Regions from separate parts of the Homo sapiens genome. Here region 2 is linked to region 1. Evidence: promoter capture Hi-C in 16 types of primary human blood cells and fetal thymus (Javierre and others, 2016). All regions are on one chromosome and are shown on one strand. The core of a region is centred on a gene start or on the middle of the fragment in contact, and the rest is flanking DNA. Distances in the headings are between cores, read along the strand shown. Region 1 holds the start of HCFC2 (host cell factor C2). Region 2 holds the start of ALDH1L2 (aldehyde dehydrogenase 1 family member L2).

Evidence for each region. Contacts are between HindIII fragments. The CHiCAGO score rates a contact against its expected background, and 5 or more counts as called.
Region 2: a contact is called between the fragment with the promoter of ALDH1L2 here and the fragment with the promoter of HCFC2 in region 1, in 8 of 17 cell types (monocytes, total B cells, activated CD4 T cells and 5 more). The highest score is 12.7, in monocytes.

The regions. Positions count from the first base shown.
Region 1 is chr12:104,062,466-104,066,164 of GRCh38, forward strand. It overlaps HCFC2 (host cell factor C2), which reads left to right and starts at 2,066. Exons shown (of 15, transcript NM_013320.3): 1 at 2,066-2,258. The coding sequence starts at 2,096. It also overlaps a transcript of GLT8D2 not described here. RefSeq lists an enhancer at 100-269, a cis regulatory region at 185 and silencers at 1,593-1,752, 1,762-1,931, 1,913-2,082, 2,303-2,442. The HindIII fragment of the contact is 6,452 bases long and covers 1,506-3,699 here.
Region 2 is chr12:105,082,160-105,085,862 of GRCh38, forward strand. It overlaps ALDH1L2 (aldehyde dehydrogenase 1 family member L2), which reads right to left and starts at 2,299. Exons shown (of 23, transcript NM_001034173.4): 1 at 2,230-2,299. The coding sequence starts at 2,277. RefSeq lists enhancers at 1,142-1,942, 1,437-1,676 and a silencer at 2,177-2,606. The HindIII fragment of the contact is 2,214 bases long and covers 1,275-3,488 here.

The DNA of each region.
Region 1 (3,699 bases), core at 816-3,315:
GGGTGAATGAGGCATATAAGAGAAATTGAAAATGGTAAAATAAGAGGAAAAAAGAGTTTTAGGAAATTTACTATACAGTGTCTGTGTTCTCCTTTGAGTACCTCTTGAGAATCTGAGGTAGGGATTTAAATTGCTTTCAATTTTTTCTTCCACTGGACTTGTATCTCTTATTTATCTCTCTTTAATAAAAATAGAGATGGGATCTCACCATCTTGACCGAGCTGGTCTCAAACTCCTGGGATCAGTGGATCCTTCTGTCTCAGCCTCCAAAAGTGCTGGGATTACAGGTGTGAGTCACCATGCCCAGTCCTTTTTCAATTAAAATTTTAAAAAATAACTTGTATTGTGGATATTTAAGATATACAATATGAAGTTGATATCATATAGACCAGGGGTCCCCAGTCCCCAGCAACCAGTCCTCGGCCTGTTCGGAACCCCCATGACCTTCCTGAGCTCTGCCTCCTGTCAGATCAACCGCGCATTAGATTCTCATAGGAGCTCGAACCCTACTGTGAACTGCCCATAGGAGGGATCTAAATTGTGTACTCCCTATGAGAATCTTATGCCTGATGATCTGAGGTGGAACAGTTTCATGCCAAAACCATAGCCCCCATCCCCTTGCCAAGTCCATACCACCCACTCCCCTGCCAAGTCCGTGGAAAAATTGTCTTCCATGAAACCGGTCCCTAGTGCCAAAAAGGTTGGGGACAGCTGAAACAGGCAGTCACAAGGTTACTATAGTGAAGCATATTAACATATCCATCATCTCATATAGTTACCACCAACCCTTTTTGTGTCTCTGTGGCAAGAGTGGCTAAAATCTACTCATTTGGCATGAATCCCATATGCAGTGCAGTTTTATTCCTAATGGACTTGTGTGATTATGTGTAGGACCAAATCACAGGGCAGCTAGGCCTTATTAAGTGTTGCATTGGCTGGGTGCGGTGGCTCATGCCTGTAGTTCCAGCACTTTGGGAGGCCAAGGCAGGAGGATCACTGGAGCCCAGGAGCTCGAGCTTGCAGTGAGCTCTGATCGCGCCACTGCATTCCGGCAACAGAGCCAGACCCTATCTAAAATAAATAAATAAAAATAAAGAGTTGCGTATGACTGCTACCAGAGGCAGTATGGTATAATGGTTGGATATGACTGCTATCAGAGGCAGTATGGTATATGATATAAGGGCTTGGGGGTTCTGGAATCAGAAGCCCTGTGTTGGAATCCTGGCCCCAGTCTTTTTTTTCAACACCTCTCCTTTGTGTCCATCAGAAAATTACCTTACTGCACTGTGCCTCATTTCCCCGTCCATGAAAGGGAGATAACAGGAGCCACCACACTGGATTGCTGGATGGATTACATGAGTTAATACACATGAGGCACTTAGGGCATGCCAGGCTGTGGACAGCCCTCACTTGTTAGCTAGCAATGAAACAGAAACCTAGAAAACCATCTCTCCTCTGCTTAAGCCAAACAAACCAAAAATACCTCTTGTGGCTCACGGTTCCCAAGCTTCCTGGCATGGCTCCGCACAAAGCTGCCTTCGGTTCGCCCGGCAGGCTTTGTAGCGACCTTCCCTGCCCGGGTCCCAGTCACGGTCGGGAGCAGCCGCCGTGGCCCGGGCTCGCGAGGCAGGCTCCCGCCCGCACCCTCCCGTGCGAGGTCCCCGCCCTGCGCTCCCAGCTCTTCGAACCTCTACCCGAGCTTCTCTCACGTTGCTTGTGAGACTGCCTCGCCCACACATCCTAGATGCTCAATTAAAGTGGACGTAAAGGAAGATGCTGTGGCTTCTTCCCAAAATACCGAACGGGAGGCTCTGGGTGGGGATGGGAGACGTGGTCAGTGGGAAGCGTCCTTCCACCCTAAGGTGCGTTGCTCCGGGTGGCCGCTGGCCAAGTCGCCTGGGGTGGGGGCGGGGCTCCCCTGTCAGGACCCCCCTTCCCCAGCGTCTCTCCACTGCCCGCGGGCCTCCAGCCTGGCCGCCGGCGCCCGCGGCCACGTGACCCCAGCACAGCTGGAGGCGGGTCCCCGCCCTCCCCAGGGAGCAGCCGGTTGAGGCGGGAGCGGTGCATTGTGGGCAGAGGGGCGGGGGTTGGGAAGATGGCGGCTCCCAGCCTCCTCAACTGGAGGCGAGTTTCTTCCTTCACGGGGCCGGTCCCCCGCGCCCGGCACGGACACCGAGCGGTGGCCATCCGGGAGCTGATGATCATCTTTGGAGGGGGAAATGAGGGCATCGCGGATGAGCTGCACGTCTACAACACGGGTAGGCGCGGCGGCGGCTCGTCGGCCCCGCCTGCTGGAGCTGCGGAGGGGGAGGGGAGGCGAGGCGGCGGCCGCGGCCCTGACAGCTGTCACCGCCCGGTCACTGCTTCCTTGGGCGGGCGGCGGGGAGCGCGGCTCAGCCGGGCAGCCCGGGTCCGGCAGCTCTGTCCCGGACCGCAGCTCAGGATCTCCGGGGCCCTTGGGGCGCAACGGACCCCGAGCGGGGCGCACCGGCCTTCAGGCGGGGGATCCCGGACGCCCCCACCCCAGCCCGACAGGCGGACGCAGGCGACAGAAGACCATGTCCAACCGCCTGGGCCACTCCCCGAAATCTCGCCTCTGTCAAAAAACAAAACCCACTCCAAACCAAAGTTCCTTAGGGCCTTTCCCGTCTTTGCCTGCCTTCCTTCCTTAGGAGGAAGACCATCTAGGGGGTGAGGAGGGAAAACGAGAGGCCTTCTGGCACTCTCGCCTCAAATACAACCCGGTGTTTGGCAGGTAACGGTCAAGAGCCCCTCCGTGAGCCGCGCTCTAAAGCGGCGGGGACGTGGTGAGGCGGCCTTGTGTCTGCATACTCGGTGTGGACGCCCTTCTGGACTGGCCCTCGGAAAGAGGACTGTCATAACTTGAGCACCACTGCAGATCACAAGTGCCCCTGGGCAGGGAGCCCCTATCTTTGAGGACCTCTGTGGAATAGAAAGGAAACTGGATTTAATTTTTTTTTCCCCTTGTAAATGCTCAGGCTGTCACAAGAAATCTGTTTGGTGTAAAGACAGTGATGGAATTTTGGGTCTACTTCATGACCGATAACTTTTCTTTGATCAAACAACTTAATCACAGGAATAATTTGAAGGTTAACAAAATAGTGGAGTCTGAGAAGTTTTATTTTTTTCACCCTCTCCTCCTCCCAGCGCCCCAGCATATGAAGGTAAAAAGTTACTGACACTTTGGTCTTAGTGTAAAATCCCTGGCTTTGGAACAAATTAGACCTGATTTGAATCTTGCTCTGCCGGTTGCCCAGGATCAGCGCTAAAGTTACCAAACCTTTTTAAGCCTCACAATTTTCAGTTGTAAAATAGAGATTTTTATACTCACCCAGCAGGGCGTTTTGTAAGAATTAAATGATACAGATCAGGGTTTTTCAACAGCAGCACTCTCGACCTTTTGGGCCAGGTAATTCTTTGTTGAGGTTGGGGGAAGCTGCCCTGTATTGCCCTGTACATTGTAAGATGTTTGGCAGCATCCCTGCCTCTACCTACTAGATGCCAGTAACAGCCCCCTCCAGTTGTGACAACTAAAAATGTCACCAGACATTACCAAATGTCTTCTGGGGGGCAGAATCATCCCCAGTTGAGACCCACTGATATTGATGATATATATTTGCTGATAGTATATGATAACCGTTGTTTGTTATAATCGGTTTTCATTTTATTTTGGCAACT
Region 2 (3,703 bases), core at 1,049-3,548, 1.0 Mb after region 1:
TTCCAGCCTGAGTGACAAAGTGAGACTCTGTCTCAAAACAATAAAAATTAAAAGATAATTTGCATGGGTAAAATGCACCCTCTTCAGTGTACTGTGCTGTGAGTTTTAACAAACACACAGTCACGTAACCACTACCATAATCAAGATGTAGAACAGTTCCATTACCGCCCAAATTCCTTTATGCCTATTTATAATCAATCCTTCCTCCTATCTCCAGCTCCAGACATCACTGATCTTTTTTCTGTCCCTATAGTTTTACTCTTCCAAAATGTCAGATAAATGAAATCATAAAATATGTAGCATTATGAGTCTGATTCTTACACTTAGCATACATATTTGAGTTCCATCCATGTTGTATGCATCAGTAGTTCATTCCTTTTTCCCCCAACTGAGTAGAATTCCATTGTATGGATGGATATACCACAGCTTGTTTATCCTGTCACCAGCTGAGGACAATTTATTTCCAGTTTTTGGCAATTATGAATAAAACCTCTAGAAACATCAATAAACAGGTTTCTATGCGGGCAAATAAGGTTTCATTTCTTTTGAGTAAATACCTAGGAGTGTGATTCCGGGGTCATATGATAGGTTTATGTTTAACTACATATAAAACTGCCAAACAGTTTTCCAAAGTGGCTGTACCATTTTATATTTCCACCAGCCATGTATCTGTTTGATTTTGAATAATTCTTATAAAACACAGTCCAGAACATTTTCTACAGGATAAAACATCCCACATTTTTCATTCACCACTCAGTAGCTTCCTTTCGACCACTGAGGAAACTGTCTTCTTCCCAGCCATGAGTATCACTGCTTTTCCATATGCACCCCTGCGTACAGTTAGACCCTGATCACGCCAGTTCTTCCCCACATCCATAGTTTTGTTTATGCCATTTGCCACCTGAGATGTTTACCTTTTATTACTGAAATCTTATGCAAACCGCACTATCAAAATCTTTTCATTCTGCAAGACTTCCTTCTGGTCACCAAAAAAGACAAGTCAGTGAAAGGTGTTGACAGAGGAGGCCAACAAAACAGGCTCAGGCATTGGGCACAGCCCGTTGCTTTCTGTGCTATCCATCTGGGATCCCATGTGCCACGTGGTGGGGGAAGCTAATGAGGGGTCCAGGAGAGCAGGCCAAAGTCCTAGCAGAGCAGGTCTTCCCCACCCCCACCCCTCGTTTTATAAAAGGTGACTATACCTCAAAGTAACTAGAACTGGTTGCAAAGAGTAAAACGAATTCTTATTATTTGGGGTTGTCTGGGATACAGAAAGCTTTTCCTTTGATGCAAGTTTGGGCCAGTTTTTGGTGCTACTCAAGACTTCTCTCTGCCTCCAAGTTTTTTACATCTGAATATATACATATGTACATATGGCTTTGGCATGGCCGAGAAAAAGAATCGATAAGCAAATTCTTTTATGTACTTCCTATAAAAGATACGATACATAAGACAGTTTTTATTTTTTTTTTTTCTCTCTCTCTCTTCCCTAAACAGTCCCGAGGCCCCCTGGGTGCTGAAGGCAGCACCGCAGTGCAACGTGTCCTCTCTCGGTTCCATTTCTGGAGGAGCTGATGCAATTCCAAGGCGCGGGGCTGGGCCAGAGCTCGGTTCTTGTGCTACAGTAGAATAGTGTTCCAGCGTGGCTGCCTCTGCAGCGCCTGGCAATTCTAGAAATTTTGCCATCTGCAGCTCAGCTCAGGAATACTGAGCTTGCAGCCATCAGCTTTGAGTGCCATTATCTGAACCGGCCCTGCGTGCCAGTCTCGAGCGCTTACACCTCCCAGGCCGCCAACGAGGACCCTATTGACTTGATACTCCCCTCCTCCAGGAGACAGTCTCGGTTCCATATGGCTCCAGCTCTTGACCAGGGATCTCATGATTGAAGTGAAAAAGGAAAGGAAGCAGACTCTGTCCTCCTTACCAAGTGACTGTTCCCACCTTGCCATCCCAGCCAGACTTGACACGTCCAAAAACTGCATCCTCAGCCCCCTCCCGGCAGAAGACAATGGCCTGCGTGCCAGTTCCCATCCGGGACCCTCCCCAAGCCCTCCTCTGAGGTCTCTCTGTTTTTGTTTGTTTGTTTGTTTGTTTTAAACGCTGTCTTGGTGTTTAGCAAAGTCTAAGCATCGCTGCTCATCCCCAGCCCCACCGCCCCGGCCCTCCCGCCCCGGAGTCTGGAAACCAGGACAGGGTGACAGCCGGGACGCTCGCCCGGGCCGGACTCACCCGGCCAGTGGAGAAGCGCCGGAGCGCCTGGCTGCCCCGCCGCAGCATGCTGGAGAGGAGCGCTAGCACTGGCGACGCGGCAGCGCGGGAGGCAGGCGGGCGGCGCAGCCTGGGCGCGGCCTGGGCGCGGCCTGCAGTCTGGATGCCCCGGACTGCCTGGCTCGCGGCTCGCCGCTCTCGGCCTCTGCTAGTCCGCACCCCTCCCAAAGCCCACAGCCCGCGGCCCGCCCCACCCTACCAGCTGCAAGGCCCCGCCCCCTAGCTGTCAAGACCCCGCCCCCAGCTGGAAGGCCCCGCCCCGCCAGCTGGCTGCGTTCGGACAGCCAACCTGGTGCGACCCGGCGGAGCGCGTGGGCTTCCTGGAGCCTGTGGGCCCTGACCCTGGTGCCAAGAGCGCACCCAGTCCCAGGGACCGCGCCTCTCCGCTGCCTGGACTTTCCGCCAATTCCAGCCAAGGTCCAGGTGCTTTCTAACTGTGGGACCCTCTACCAGTTACTCAGCCCCGCAGCAGTGTATACGGATCTACCTTATTAGTGGTCAATCTGACATCCCAAGTGCTGTCCATAGCACAGCCCGTAAAAGGCACGCCTGTAGACAGATAGGTAGTGGGGGCGCCTTCGCTGTGGAGGGATCCTGATGCCTACCTCGTAGGACGGTAGGCCGGGCGCGGTGGCTCCCGCCTGTAATCCCAGCACTTTGGGAGGCCGAGGAGGGAAGATGGCCTGAGCTCAGGAGTTCGAGACCAGCCTGGCCACCATGGTGAAACCCCGTCTCTACTAAAAATAAAAAATAATAAAATAATAAAATAATTAGCCGGGCGTGATGTCGCATGCCTGCAGTCCCAGCTACTCGGGAGGCTGAAGCACGAGGATCACTTGAGCCGGGGAGGCGGAGGTTGCAGTGGAGCTGAGATCATGCCACTGCACTTCAGCCTGGACAACAGAGCGAGACTCTGTCTTAAAAATAAATAAATAAATTGGTGCAAAAGTAATTGTGGTTTTTGCCACTGAAAATAATGGCAAACCCGCAATTACTTTTGCATCAACCTAATAGATACGTGCCCTTCTCCCTCACCTCTCTGGAAAAAACGCTCAGACCTGCTTTAGCTGGACGTTTATCTCAAGCCAGACTTCTTAGCCCAGCATTCAGGGCCGTCTGCAATTTGCCATTTTCTCTTATTTCTCACTGCTCTTTTGCATATGTAATTCTGCTTGACTGCAGTTCTTGCCTATTCCTTCTTGGACAATGTTTCCCAGAAAAGCTTGTCATCTGTCACTTGTAATTATCTTGGCACGACCGTTTCTTTTCTGAAAGGTACCGCTTACATGCTGCCTCCTGGAGGCGCTTTTTTCTGATTCTTTTCTCTCTTAGTCTCCTTATTCCCCATAAATAATTGTTCACTCCTCTTAACAGGAAATAATCTTTGTCTATGCATCTGTTATGGCTGTCTCAATCTGCTACTGGTATTTGTATA